2 separate regions of the Homo sapiens genome follow, and region 1 is linked to region 2. Evidence: promoter capture Hi-C in human tissues and cell types (Jung and others, 2019). All regions are on one chromosome and are shown on one strand. Each heading gives the region's core, a stretch centred on a gene start or on the middle of the fragment in contact. The rest is flanking DNA. Distances are from core to core; before and after follow the strand shown.

Region 1 (6,627 bases), core at 2,722-5,221, 380 kb before region 2:
ACTGCTTTTTATGGATACTTGTGACCACTTTTTTCATCTGTATTCAGCAGTAGTATACACCTGTAATCTCTCTTTTTTCATCTCATTTTCCTTCCCCTGTAGCTAGAATGATGCTCAGAAATAAAAGAAAATTAATGCTTTCCCTGGATTCTGTTATTATTCAAATTGCTCTCCAGTGGTTCTTTTTCCAGATTTCTCTAAAGGAAGGCTATTCCCTTGCTATTCAGAGCTGTGTCCAAGGACCAGCAACAACATCACCTGAGTACTCATGAGAAACGCAGACTCCCATACCCGCTAAATCAGAATGTGCAGTTTCTAGAAGCTCCTCAACTAATTCATGACGATCTGAATGCCCTGTTCTACACTTTATGTGATTCCATATTAGTTTACCCTAATTGCCCTTTTTGGCCTAGCCTCAATTTCTTCCCTATTATGTCTCTGAATTTAATACTACATTATAAGCCATAATGTTAATATGGCTTTTAATAACTTTTAATCAGGTAATACCTTCTCTAGTTAATTTCTTTCCATACATCACCCAACACTATTCTTTTCAATTATGTTAATTTAGCCTATATGATAGTATCCTATGAGGTTACAACATTTTCTTTAAAACCAAATTATAGCCATACATGGCTGACCATTTATGGTGATGTTCATCTATGGTAGATAAAACACAGGTCTGTGTGGTAAAATACCTCAATCCTTAATGCCTCCCCAGTAGTGAGGATGACAGCAAGGGTAGGAAAATGTTACTCTAATTCTCTGACACATGTTGGTACTGGAAGCTCACTTTATCTTCCTTCCTATTTCTAACACCCTGTTCTTCCTTTTTCTACAGATCAATTTGACTTTACTACCCTCTATTACATACATCTGCATATGTGTTTTTATTTATTCCATGTACACTCTGCCCTCATCTTTCTTTCTCTTTTATTCATTTCCTCTTCCCTCTCTCCTGACTTGCCTTAGGTCTTAGAGTATCTTAAAATGGAACTCACAACTCAGCTCCTTTAGTGGTACTCCCAATAGAATCAACTGCTGACCCTTGGTTAGAGACACAACTTATCACCATTTCACTTCTCCTTTACTTATTATACAGCTAATAGGACATTTTCTTTAGCTATTAGACTCTATTAGTGCTCATATTTTCAAAGAAACATTCCATCAAATGACTTTTTTTTTTTTTTTGAGACAGAGTCTCACTCTGACACCCAGGCTGGAGTGCAGTGGAGTGATCTCCGTTTACTGCAAGCTCCACCTCCCAGGTTCACACTATCCTCCTGCCTCAGCCTCCCAAGTAGCTGGGACTACAGGGGCCCACCACCATACCTGGCAAATTATTTGTATTTTTAGTAGGGATGGGGTTTCACCATGTTAGCCAGGATTGTCTCGATCTCCTGACCTCATGATCTGCCCACCTCAGCCTCCCAAAGTGCTGGGATTACAGGCGTGAGCCACCGCACCCAGCCTGCAACAAATGACTTTTTAAATAAAATACGGTTCTCACCTTCTCCTTTTCCATTGACTATTCTGTTTCCTTTTCCATGGGAAGGTCCACGTAAAGGCTCTGACACTTTCTCGGGGACACACTGCTAAGGTAATATCAAGAATTAATTTCCATTTTAAAATTATAATGAGTTGCATCAAGACTTTCTTATCAATCTCTTTTTATGAAACTGGGTCTCACTCTGTCAACCCAGGGCTAGAATGCAGGGGCCTGATTATGGCTCACTGTGGTCTCAAACTCCTGACCTCAAGCAATCTTCCCACCTCAACTTCCTGAATAGCTGGAACTACAGGTGCATACCATCATGCCATGCTAATGTTTTTATTGTTATCTTTGTAGAAACAAGGCCTCATTATACTGCCCAGGCTGGTCTCAAACTCCTAGGCTTGAGTAAATCTTCGACTTCTGCCTCCCAAAGTGTTGAGATAAGCAGTGTGCACCACCACACCCAGCCCTAATCAATTTCTTTAAATCAATCTCAATGTTGCCCAGGCATGGTGGCTCACACCTGTAATCTCAGCCCTTTGCAAGGCCAAGGTGGGTGGATTGCTTGAGTTCAGGAGTTTGAGACCTGCCTGGGCAACATAATGAGAACACATCTCTACACAAAAAATACCAAAAGGAGTCAGGCATGATGGTGTGTGCCTGTAGTCCCAGCTGCTTGGGAAGCTGATGTGGGAGGATCATTTGAGCCTGAGAGGTGGAGACTGTAGTGTGCCAAGATCATGCCACTACACTGCAGCCTGGGCAACAGAGCAAGACCCTGACTCCCCAAAAATATCAATTTAAAATGTGAGAATGAAGAGACATACAAACAAAAAAGAAGCCTAATTGGTCAATGAAATATGAGCTTAAGCCAAGAAAGAAAAGAAACAACATGAAGTACAATAAAGTACATGGGGAAATAGATCTATAACAGAGCCTTCTGGTCTTTCATATCCCTGATAATACTAATTAATATTTATGCTACAATTAGTTTTTTGTAAGTACTTCTGTGATAGAGTTTATTACTATAAGACATTCAGTTAACTAAATATGGTCATCTACCACTACCTGAAAGAACATTATTATAACAGAGAGAGAAAACTGGAACTTTCCATCAACGTTCCACCCAGAAAAAGAATTGGTCACCAGAATTCTAAAGAGTAATGTATGGCAGACACATGAAAAAATGCTCATCATCACTTGCCATCAGAGAAATGCAAATCAAAACCACAATGAGATACCATCTCACACGAGTTAGAATGGCGATCATTAAAAAGTCAGGAAACAACAGGTGCTGGAGAGGATGTGGAGAAATAGGAACACTTTTACACTGTTGGTGGGACTGTAAACTAGTTCAACCATTGTGGAAGACAGTGTGGTGATTCCTCAAGGATCTAGAACTAGAAATGCCATTTGACCCAGTCATCCCATTATTGGGTATATACCCAAACGATTATAAATCATGCTGCTATAAAGACACATGCACAAGTATGTTTATTGCAGCACTATTCACAATAGCAAAGACTTGGAACCAACCCAAATGTCCAACAATGACAGACTGGATTAAGAAAATGTGGCACATATACATCGTGGAATACTATGCAGCCATAAAAAAGGATGAGTTCAGTCCTTTGTAGGGACATGGATGAAGCTGGAAACCATCATTCTGAGCAAGGACAGAAAACCAAACACCACATGTTCTCACTCATAGGTGGGAACTGAACAATGAGAACACTTAGACACAGGAAGGGGAACATCACACACAGGGGCCTGTTGTGGGGTGGAGGGAGGGGGAAGGGATAGCATTAGGAGATATGTCTAATGTAAATGATGAGTTAATGGGTGCAGCACACCAACATGGAACATGTATACATATGTAACAAACCTGCACGTTGTGCACATGTACCCGAGAACTTAAAACATAATAATAATAATAATAAAGGGTAATGTATGGCTTGAAAAGGTATATTTAATAGAACCTGAGTTGGGACTAATAAAAAGCTTAAGAAATGTTAATCTAAAATCTCAATGTTAAGATTCCAGTTCAATGATACTAGAAAATATATTGTAACCCTCTTTGCTACTGATGACCTATTTCTAATTTATTTCCTTTTTAATTATGGCACAATTTATCAACATAACACATCAAAACTTATACGCCCTTAAATATTAAAAAATAATACAAATGTAAGCAATATTTTAAATATAATATTTAATTGTTAGATACATTAGGTATATTATATTACTTATAACATTCCATTATATAAAAATTCATTTGTCTATTTATTCAGATTAAACAACTATTAAGGCTGAATGTCTCATGCCTGTAACCCCAGCACTATGAGAGGCTGAGGCGGGCAGAACACTTGAGCCCAACAGTTAAAGACCAGCCTCGGCAACAAGGCAAAACCCTGTCTCTACAAAACTCAGCCGAGCATGGTGACACAGGTCTATGGTGACATACCTCTATTGTTTCAACTACTTGGATGGCTGAAGTGTGAGGATCTCCTGAGCCCAGGAAATGGAGATCGGAGTGAGCCAAGATTTCACCAGTGCCCTCCAGCCTGGGTGACAGAGTGAAACCCCATCACAAAAAACAACAAGTAAAATGCTTTTTACATGGAAGACTGTATTCTAGGTACTCCAGGATACACACAAATATGTTTACTGACCTCCAGTAGCCTGTAGTATGCAGGAGCTTCCAATGATTATTTAAACAACTAAATAGAAAACCTTCTGACATTCAAAATTTCAGAATAGGATATAAGGACTTTGAGTGGTTATTTTATTTTTTAAGATGTAGTCTTGCTCTGTCACCCAGGCTGGAGTGCAATGGTGCGATCTTGGCTCACTGCAACCTCTGCCTCCCAGGTTCAAGCAATTCTCCCACCGTGGCCTCCTGAGCAGCTGGGATTACAGGCATGCACCATCACACCTGGTTAATTTTTGTGCTTTTTTTTTTTTCTTTTTTTTTTTTTTTAGAGACAGGGTTTCATCACGTTGGCCAGGCTGATCTTGAACTCCTGACCTCAGGTGATCTACCCACCTCAGCCTCCAAAAGGGCTGGGATTACAGGTGTGAGCCACCACACCCAGCCAAGTAAATATTTTAAATAAACTACAATGACAAAATTATGATGATAAAGTCTTACCATATTGGTATTAAGAGTCTCTGCTTCTAGAACTGGTTATTTGCAGCAAAATACATGTTATTCAATTAGATGAAGTGTTTTATATGAACTCTTCATGGACAACTCATAAAACACACAAAAATCCCTTTGCAATACAAATTTTGAGAACATAAATTTAAATGTCTATGTTTCCACAATTTATATTTTTAAATCAGATACAGTCTTGTTATGTTGCCCAGGCTGTTCTCAAATTCCTGGGCTCAAGCAATCTTCCTGCATCAAACTCCCAAGTAGCAGGGACTACAGGTGTACACCACCACACTCAGCTATTTTTCTACAATTTTTAATATTATTTTAGTCTCACTACAGAACCAATAATATAAGTAGAGAAACAATCTCTCCTAAAAACTATGTGATACCAAAATAATAAGTTTCCAAGAACAAAAGCTGTATGCTATGTGCTGAACCTTTTTGCAACTAAAAGTTACCAGGAGAATTCCATGATTACTACAAATAATTTGATCCACTGAAGAGTTATACAGGCATAAATATTATGAAAGTCACACTCATATGATTTAAAAGTCAAAGTATTAGTATTTATCCAAATAAAGCTTAATCAAATTTCATATTTCCTCTATTGGAGAAAGCACTTCCTAATGTGATTTTCCTCTCACTACTTATTTTCCAGTTCATTTTTTTCAGCTCCTACCCTGTCACAGTACTTATCAATCTTTGTTAGTTACCAAAGTTAAACAAATTTTTTCAGTCAACTAGCCACATATATGTTTTTCTCTGACCCACTTTCCATTACCACCATAAAACAATGATAGGTAAACCACTGCTAAGTTTGAAAAGTAAGTACTATGCAAAACTACATTCAGAGTGAGAAAATTAATTTTACAAGAGACCACTTTACCTTAGCAGCAACACTCAAGAGTTCGTCATCCAATGCAGACAATGAATCCACACACAGTTCATGGAAAATGCTTGAGAGCAAAAATACACAATGAAAATGAGCAAGTTGATTTCTTTACAATTTTTTAACTGCCAGTTTATATCCAGCTTTCCCCTCAAAAAAGGAAAGAATAATCTGGGGAAAGTTCAGTGATCTATATATTAAATTATGATTCTTGATATAATTAAAATATGTCCTCTGTTCTAAAAATAGATTTTAATTACCAATTTCTGCCTCCACCTGTCTAAATCTATAAAATATTCAATGAAAACTAACCTTCAGCTTCATAACAAATAGTGACAGTCAATATATTGGCAGAGCCTGACAATAATTTGCCCTCACAGATTATCTGTCCTGAAGCTGAACTTAAAACTCAATTAATGGATGACATAAATTTTGTTACCTAAACTGGAAGAAAACTGATGACCTAAAACAAGGTAGAAAGATCCACTGTCTCTTTTCCATGATCTATCTCTGGTTAAAAGACTAATCTGTATCACTTTGAAATGGCAGTCTTGATTCCTCAACATGGAACCCACTTAGGAATGTCCTATTGCTTTCCTTTGCCCTAAATCGGTACAGGAAATCCCATGCAATATTTGAAAGGTATGAAAGCTACATGTACAAAAATCAAATAACAAAGGTGTATGTTCTTATTGAGAATACTTTTCCCAGAAAGATTAAAATATTAATAATTATAAAATCCCATTATTTTCACTCTATAAGTCCTACTTTATTCAGGTCCACATAAACTAGCAAGCCCTTAAAAATTTTCATAGGCACTCAGACACCCAAGGAGAGAGACTGCCAGAAAGACAGAGTCCTGGTAGTTGTACCTCTATTTTCCTAAGTACTATCTAAGTATCTATCTTCCTATGGGCTCCCACTTCCAGATTCCACTTCTGCAGGGCTCCACAGAAGTCTCCAATCTTCAAATCTTCAGCCTATGAAAGCACAGATTCCTGAAAGGATGGCCTCAAATGACCAGGAGTAGGAGCCCTCTATATCCCTGCTCCTGAAAAACAAGCTAACTGGAGTCTCCATCAC
Region 2 (7,380 bases), core at 3,181-5,680:
TGCACTGTGGTTCCCCATGGTGGTTACACGGGACCACTTACTGCCCATTCGTGGATACACACATGAATTTTCAGCAAAAAGGAACAGGAAACATTTGAAAAGATAGCTGCCCCTTCAAAACTCAGTTGCCAACAGCCTGCTAATTTGCCAGTTTTCAAATGATTTGGATGTCTTATGCACACTCCTGTTCATGCCAGCACCGTTTCTTTCCTGGACTCTGCATTTCCAGGGGCAGGGGTCAAGTGCATAAGTTATTGATATGGCTACACCCAGGAAGCCCCTCTGTCCTGGCAGGCCTCAACAGGAAGGGTCCCTCTTCTGCACTAGCAGCTCACTGTTGTGTGACCCAATGGTCCTCTGCTTTATATACATTTTTTTCATTGGGTGCAGTCTAGATGTGAATGTCCAATACAAAGCAGAAAATAGGAATCATACCAAAAGTTATTACAAGAGTGGACTGTGAGAGCTGCAAGGACTCCAGCCCTTTGCTTCAGAGAAGGACCACACAAGCCTCCTGGTGTCCAGGCCACTGCTCTGACCATTGGCCCCCGTGTCCTTCCTTAGTATTTACCCCATCTAGTCATTTCTTTTTCTTTTTCTTTTTCTTTCTTTTTTTTTTTGAGACAGAGTCTTGAATGGTTGCCCAGGCTGGAGTGCAATGGTGCAATCTTGGCTCACTGCAACCTCTGGCTCACACCTCTAATCCGAGCATTTCTTTAAAATAAAAAGCAAACCCTATAGTGCTTTACAAATTTACAAGAAGCTCACACAATTTTGCAGTTCTCATGGCCATCGTGTACAGTCAGCACAGATGTGGAACCTGAAATAAGATGATTCACGCCACACAGCAGTGAAAGGCAGAATTAGCACCTGAACTCGGGTTTCTCTGCTCCAGTCTAGGTTGGGAGAAGATGGGGCTCCCTGGGCTATAGGTTGGGCCCTGACCTTTGTTGGCTGCTGAAATGAGATTGACATGCCTCCAAGTACACAGGCCAGAGTTCAGACTCCAACACAGATCCGGTGTGAGCCACTCAAAGCAAGCCTGGCTGTGGACGTGTGCTACTTGCAGCACTGGGCACCTTGAACTCCTTGAGCCCCTGTAATGCCCCCAGTCATCCTTTTGGAAACCCCAGATTGAGCCCAAATAAGACAGTAAGAAAGAGTCACAGAGTCTTCCACAGCACATGAGGCAGGGTTTCTAGCATAAGGTTTTATGTCTGGGTAAGCGCAACACCATGATTGACAGAAGTACAATTATTCAGACAATTATGAACAAAAGCCATGAATCAAAAGTTCAGGCAAGGGGAGCAAAGAAGACATTTCAGAACAAATGAACAGATTGCTTCTGATGGAAAGAATCTGGCCACTCTTTTCTTCCCTGAAAAGCATGCATAGCTCAGAGTGCAGCCAGCAGAGTGTGGACCTGCTTCTGGGGAGAAGAAGCAATCCCACCTGGCGTCGATATCACGGTTTTCTTCGCGTCACAATACGTGTTTCATCATGTCTGGCTTGCACTGAGGGTGCTGTGCATTCCCCGAGCACATGCCTGCTAGGTGGAGGGTGGATGGGGCCCCCAGAAATGGGTGGGAGCAGTAGAAACCATAGGACACAAAAGGACAGTAAGAAATTGTCATGACTGTCCCCAGAGTGGATAAGCAACCCTTGCATGTTGGACATAATCACCAGGAACTGAACAGAGAGAGCCTCTTAGGCCCATGTCTGAGCTGGTAAAGAGAAAAATGGGATGCTAGCACTCCCGCCTACCCCTTGGCTGTCGCTTTGTCATAGGTGAGCAAACAAAGGAGAACAGAGCCACAGAGAGGAGCACTTTGTGCTTAATCCCTTCTGGGAAAGCTGCAGGCGATCCTGAAACCACGGCAGCAAATAATCTCCTTAAAGGTCTTCCGCATCTCTTGGCTGCGGAAGGCATATATGAGAGGGTCCATCACGGAATTACACATGATGAGTATGAGGTACATATTGAAGTGAGACATGAAGCGAGAGCAGTAGAGGTTCTGAGGGCAAGAAAGCATTAAAGTGAGATGAAGGAAGAACGGGGCCCAGCACACGGTAAACACGCCCAGCAGCATGGTGACGGTGACCGCGCCCTGCATGCTGGTCCTCTGCCGCGCAGAGCTGGCCCCGGGCAGAGCCGCGATCCGCTTGACGTGAGTCCGCGCCAGGAGGAACATGTGTATGTACAGAGACACCAGGAGGAACAGCATAGCGAAGAACATGGAGATGAGGCACAGGATGACGTAGGTGGATTCTGAGTACAGGATGAAGACAATGCCGCAGCCCGTGCAGAAAGCCCAGATGCCGGCGATGATGGCCCCTGAGCGCCTCGCCGTCATGATGTGGTGGTAGCGCAGGGCGTAGAAGATGGTGACGTACCTATCCACTGCAATGGCCAGTAAGCTGCACATGGATGCCACCACGGAAATGCAGATCATGGAGTCAAACACATTGTCAATGTGGCGCACAAAGGCGTCTGCTATCACTAGGTGCTTGTTGTTGAGTAGGTAGATGGTGATGGTCTCCCAGGCACTGGACATGCTCACCAGCATGTCCGCCACTGCCAGGCTGCACACGAAGAAGTACATGGGGGAGTGCAGGTTTTTGTTCTTCACTATGGCCCCTATGACCAAGATGTTCTCCAAGAGGCTGATGACACCCAGAGTGAGAAACACCTCCACAGCAATGCCCATGTCTTCACATGGTGAAGACTTGTTTTTGACATTGGGTCCTGAAAGGTTGCCCTCTGTGGCATTCAGGTTGAGATCCAAGAAATGCAGGTGAAATGAGGAATTCATTGCTGGAGAAATACACCTCTTGTCTTGGCAGCAAATTTACTGTAAAACATGTTTTAAATTCACAATCCAAAGAGGTTAGCAGCCTACCAAAGAAAGACAGCAGCTAGCCTAGAACCAACACAGCCTAAGAAAGGGGATGAATGACACAGTGCATCAGAGGACTGGGCTCGGCTCACTCAGTCCTTTTTTTTTTTTTTTTTTAAGAGACAGGGTCTCCCTATGTTGCCCAGTCTGGTCTCAAACTCCTGGCCACAAGCGATCTTCTCTCTCAGCCTCCCAAAGTGCTGGTACTACAGGGGTGAGCCACGTGCCCGGCAGCTGGCTTGCACATTCTGACCTGCGTTCCTGAGACCTGGAAGAGTGCCCCTGGACACGCAGATTAGAATCTTCACCAGCCTCTTCTGCTCTCCTTGCTTTCAGCTCCCAGCCTTTCACATGCATCTTACTAGAGAGACACTCACCTCCAAGTGCCCAGGACAGTTTCACTTTTTATGGCTTCTCTCCTGGGCTCAAGTTCACTATCATAAGTGTCCCCAACTCATAACCTACAAAATCCCAGCCAGTCTCCCAATGTTCACATTCCTAAGGCTACTGCACGACATTCTCCTCAAGGGAGCTCCGATTTAAGACTGCCCAGACCCGTATTCCCTTAAGACAGACAGACAGGTGCATCCCTAACACTTGTCCTGACACTTCTTAGACCCATCAGGATTCAGCCTCCACAGCTGTAAGTAAGGCTATAACCAGAATGGTCTGTTACCCTGAGCAAAGTCACATGTTAAAAGCTACTGTCTTAAGTTTGTAAGTGTAGGCTGCACATACGTGTTAAAATTGAGGAAAACAGTGCTGCTTTTCCCTCAATACCTATTTTTCCCTCGCTTCTGCATTATGTGGAATTCCATGAGGTCTGCTTGATAGTTTATTAGGTCCGCGTGAGCACAGTATTTAAAAAAAAAAACAGCAATTTAAATGTACCACACTCCTTTGTTGCAAAATTTCTCTCTTATGATTCATTTTCAAAAATCCCTTTGCCCTCCAAACTCAGATCACATCTGGAGAGAATTTCTGTCATCACTGTCATCATTAATATTTGTAATCACTTTGGGAGGGAGGGAGGGGGTGAGGGACAACAAATTACTTAATAGGTACAATGTACACTATAGGGGTGATGGCTACACTAAAAGCCCAGTCTCCACCACTATGCAATACATCCATATAACAAAACAGCACCTGTACCCCCTAAATCTATAAAAATAAAAAAGGAAAAAATTGGTAATCTAAGCATTTATTGAACTACAATCATTTGTTACAGCTGAGTTCCAGCTCAGATATATCGGTAAATTATGCAATTATACTAAACATCATATCGAGCTGTGTTAAAAACTCACGGGGCAAGCTAGCTGCCGCCCCGCTCACTTCCACATGCAGCGGAAGCGCGATTTTGCATTTATTCTCAGGATCTCAAGGAGATAGAAAGTTGTGGCTATTTACCGGTGCTCCTCCTCGCGGGCCGCGGCGCTCAGCCCGGGCCCCCGGCGTCCCCGGGATCCGACGGCCGTGCGGCGCTCAGAGCCAGCCCCGGACGGGCCTCTCCCCCAGCTAGGCGGCTGCGGCTCTGCGGGGCTTTAAGCCTCCTGCCTGCCCGCGCCGGGCCCGCCTCCGCACCGCCGGCTGTCGCTCCGGGCGGCCTCCGCTGCCACCTAGTGGCCCAGCACGGCACAGCGGCCAGAGAACCGCGTCAGCCCCGAGCGAAAATCCCCCCGAACACACTCTTGAATGGTTGGATGGTTGCTTGGTTGGTTGGTTGGTCGGTCGGGTCGGTGGGTCGGTCGGTCGGTCGGTCGGTCGGTTGAATGGTTGGTTGGGTGAGTGGTTGCTTGGTTGGGTAGTTGGTTGGTTGAGTGGGTGGGTGGGTGGTTGCTTGTTTGGTGATTGGTTGGTTGGGTGAGCAGGTGGTTGCTTGCTTGGTTGGTTGGGTGGTTACGGGTTAGTTAGTTGGGTAGGTGGGTGGTTGCCTGATTGGTTGATTGGTTGATTGGTTAGGTGAGTGGATGGTTACTTGGTTGCTTGGCTGGTTGGGTGGGGGGTTCGTTGATTGGGTAGGTGGGTGGTTCCTTGGTTGGTTGATTGGTTGGTTGGGTAGGTGGGTGGTTGCTTGGTTGGTTGATTGGTTGGTTGGGTAGGTGGGTGGTTGCTTGGTTGAGTGAGTAGATGGTTACTTGGTTGCTTGCTCGCTTGCTCGCTTGCTTGGGTGGGTGGGGGGTAGTTGGTTGGGTAGGTGGGTGGTTGCTTGGTTCGTTGATTGGTTGCTTGGGTGGGTGGGTGGTTGGTTGGGTGAGTGGATGGTTGCTTGGTTGGTTGATTGGGTAAGTGGGGGTTGGTTGGGTAGGTGGGTGGTTGCTTGGTTGGTTGGTTGGGTCAGTGGGTGGGTGGGTGGTGGGTGGTTGCTTGGTTGGTTGGTTGGGTCAGTGGGTGGGTGGGTGGGTCGTTGGGTGGGTGGTTGCTTGGTTGGTTGGTTGGGTCAGTGGGTGGGTGGATGGGTGGTTGGGAGGGTGGTTGGTTGGTTGGTTGGTTGGCTGGGTCAGTGGGTGGATGGATGGGTGGTTGGGTGAGTGGTTGCTAGGTTGGTTGGGTCAGTGGGTGGGTGGATGGGTGGTTGGGTGGGTGGTTGCTTGGTTTGGTTGGTTGGGTCAGTGGGTTGGGTGGATGGGTGGTTGTGTGGGTGGTTGGTTGGTTGGTTGGTTGGGTCGGTGGGTGGATGGATAGGTGGTTGGGTGGGGGAGTGGTTGGTTGGGTCAGTGGGTGGGTGGATGGGTGGTTGGGTGGGTAGCTGCTTGGTTGTTTTTCTGGCTGGTTGCACTTTTTGTTTCTTTTCTCTTCCTCTTGAGCACTGATTAAAATGCTCCCGAGCTCAAAGAGGGCTTGTCACCCCGTTTCTCCTGGACAGTGGTCTCTGGGATGTCCTGATGATTGTTCTTTGGGAAGGAGGCCCAGTGCCTGGGAGCCCTCATCTGTGGCCCTACCACGCCCCTCTTTGCCCAAGGCTCTCACCCCTCCTCCAGGACTACACATGCCATGCCAGGCTTTATCAACCACACAGGCTTTCCTTACTCCAGCAAAAAAGAACAAAGGATGTCCTCTCACCAAATATCCTGGCCTTTCGCAATAGTTTCTGGACCCCACTCCTTCTCTGACACCTAAAACTGACCTTCAACCCCCAAAAGAATCATTATACTCACAATAAGCAGAAGTGCCACTGCCCTGCAAGCCAGGGCAGGATGCACGGGGCCATATCACTACCAGAGCTTTCCTTGGGCTTTGCAGATGATCACAACCTTCCAGTATTTCAAGTGTGGGGACCACAGTCTGGCTGGCCTCACGCCACTGGAGTCCCAAGCCGTGCTGGGAGCCACAGGGTGGAATTCTAGAAGGAGGTTCTGAATGTTGAGAATACATATTGGGAATGTGGTGTGAGGGAGGGAACCCATTTCCGTGTGTTGAAAACATCAGCAGGGTCAAGCACTCCCACATATAGTCCTCACATCCAAGATCAGATCAGAGAGGGCTCTGCAAAAGGTCCTGGTGTCCCAGGAAAGTGCTCAAAATGGAGGGCTCTGTGCAAGATGAGCAGCTGGACCACAGCAGGCGGCCTCCCACAGTGGTGAGGGCGGCTGGCCCAGGGGCCCTATGTGCAGGGGTGACCCTGAGTGCTGCACAGGAATTACCTTCCTCAACCTTTACGAAACCCTAGAAGTGGGTTTCTCCTCTCGCAATGGAAGGAGCCGGTGCTGGGAGAGGTGACTTAGCAAGCTCCAGCTTCCAGCGCTAGAGAGCTGAGCCCCGACTGACTCAGAGCCCAAGCACTTTCCCCGGCAGGACGCAGCCTCCCTGAGAGCCCTGGTGCCACCGGGCATTATTCTTTTAAAATGCTGCTGGATTTGATGTGCAGTGTTCCTGTCTTCATACTGTCTTTATCAGATTTTGGTATATAAGTTACCCTAACTTTGTTTAATAAACTGGGGAAATATTTTGATTATTTTTATATTCTGAAACACCTTAGGTGATGTAGGAATTCTCGGTTTCTTGCAGGAAAATAATTGAATTAAGGTTAATAGAGTTAAGAGAATAGAGACTAAGCTCTTCAACTGTTCCTGTCATTGGAAACTTTCTCCCAAACAGCAGCCTAATGACAATGCTGAACACACACGATGACATGAGCCACCCAGGAAGGAATGTTCCTTTCCCTGTCAAAGACCAGCATAACATGCAACAACCCAGGTGTTTTATTTCTTGAACAATGACAACAGAGAGGATTCTCAATTCGAGTGCACAGAGACAACCCGTGGAGTCATATCTGTGAAGGCTTGCAAGGGTCAAATCTAGCTGGACACTGGATGTCTCGGCCTGGGTTCTCTGAGTCACAGGCTCTGAAGAGTTCACCATGCAGGATGCTGTGGGGAAGCCTCCTGGGGGCAGGCCTGCGGAGGGAGGGATGGGAGGGGAGGGAGAGAAGAGAGCTGCCAGGCAGCTCCAACAACCTCAGCCCTCACGCCCCACCCAGCTCAGT

What was found. The method cuts DNA at HindIII sites, captures the fragments that hold promoters and counts their contacts. A contact is called where the count stands out against the background at its distance.
Region 1: a fragment that was not itself captured here is called in contact with the fragment with the promoter of MC5R in region 2 in 2 of the 25 tissues and cell types used here (dorsolateral prefrontal cortex and lymphoblastoid cells).

Annotation. Positions count from the first base shown.
Region 1 is chr18:14,200,116-14,206,742 of GRCh38, reverse strand. It overlaps the pseudogene ANKRD20A5P. Among named protein-coding and RNA genes, the nearest start is that of ZNF519, 71 kb to the right of the region's middle. The HindIII fragment of the contact is 5,032 bases long and covers 1,456-6,487 here.
Region 2 is chr18:13,821,199-13,828,578 of GRCh38, reverse strand. MC5R (melanocortin 5 receptor) reads right to left here and starts at 4,430. Exons shown (of 2, transcript NM_005913.3): 1 at 4,305-4,430; 2 at 1,256-2,852. The coding sequence starts at 2,813. The coding sequence ends at 1,836. RefSeq lists silencers at 4,226-4,315, 4,326-4,615, 4,581-4,761. The HindIII fragment of the contact is 21,381 bases long and covers 1-7,380 here.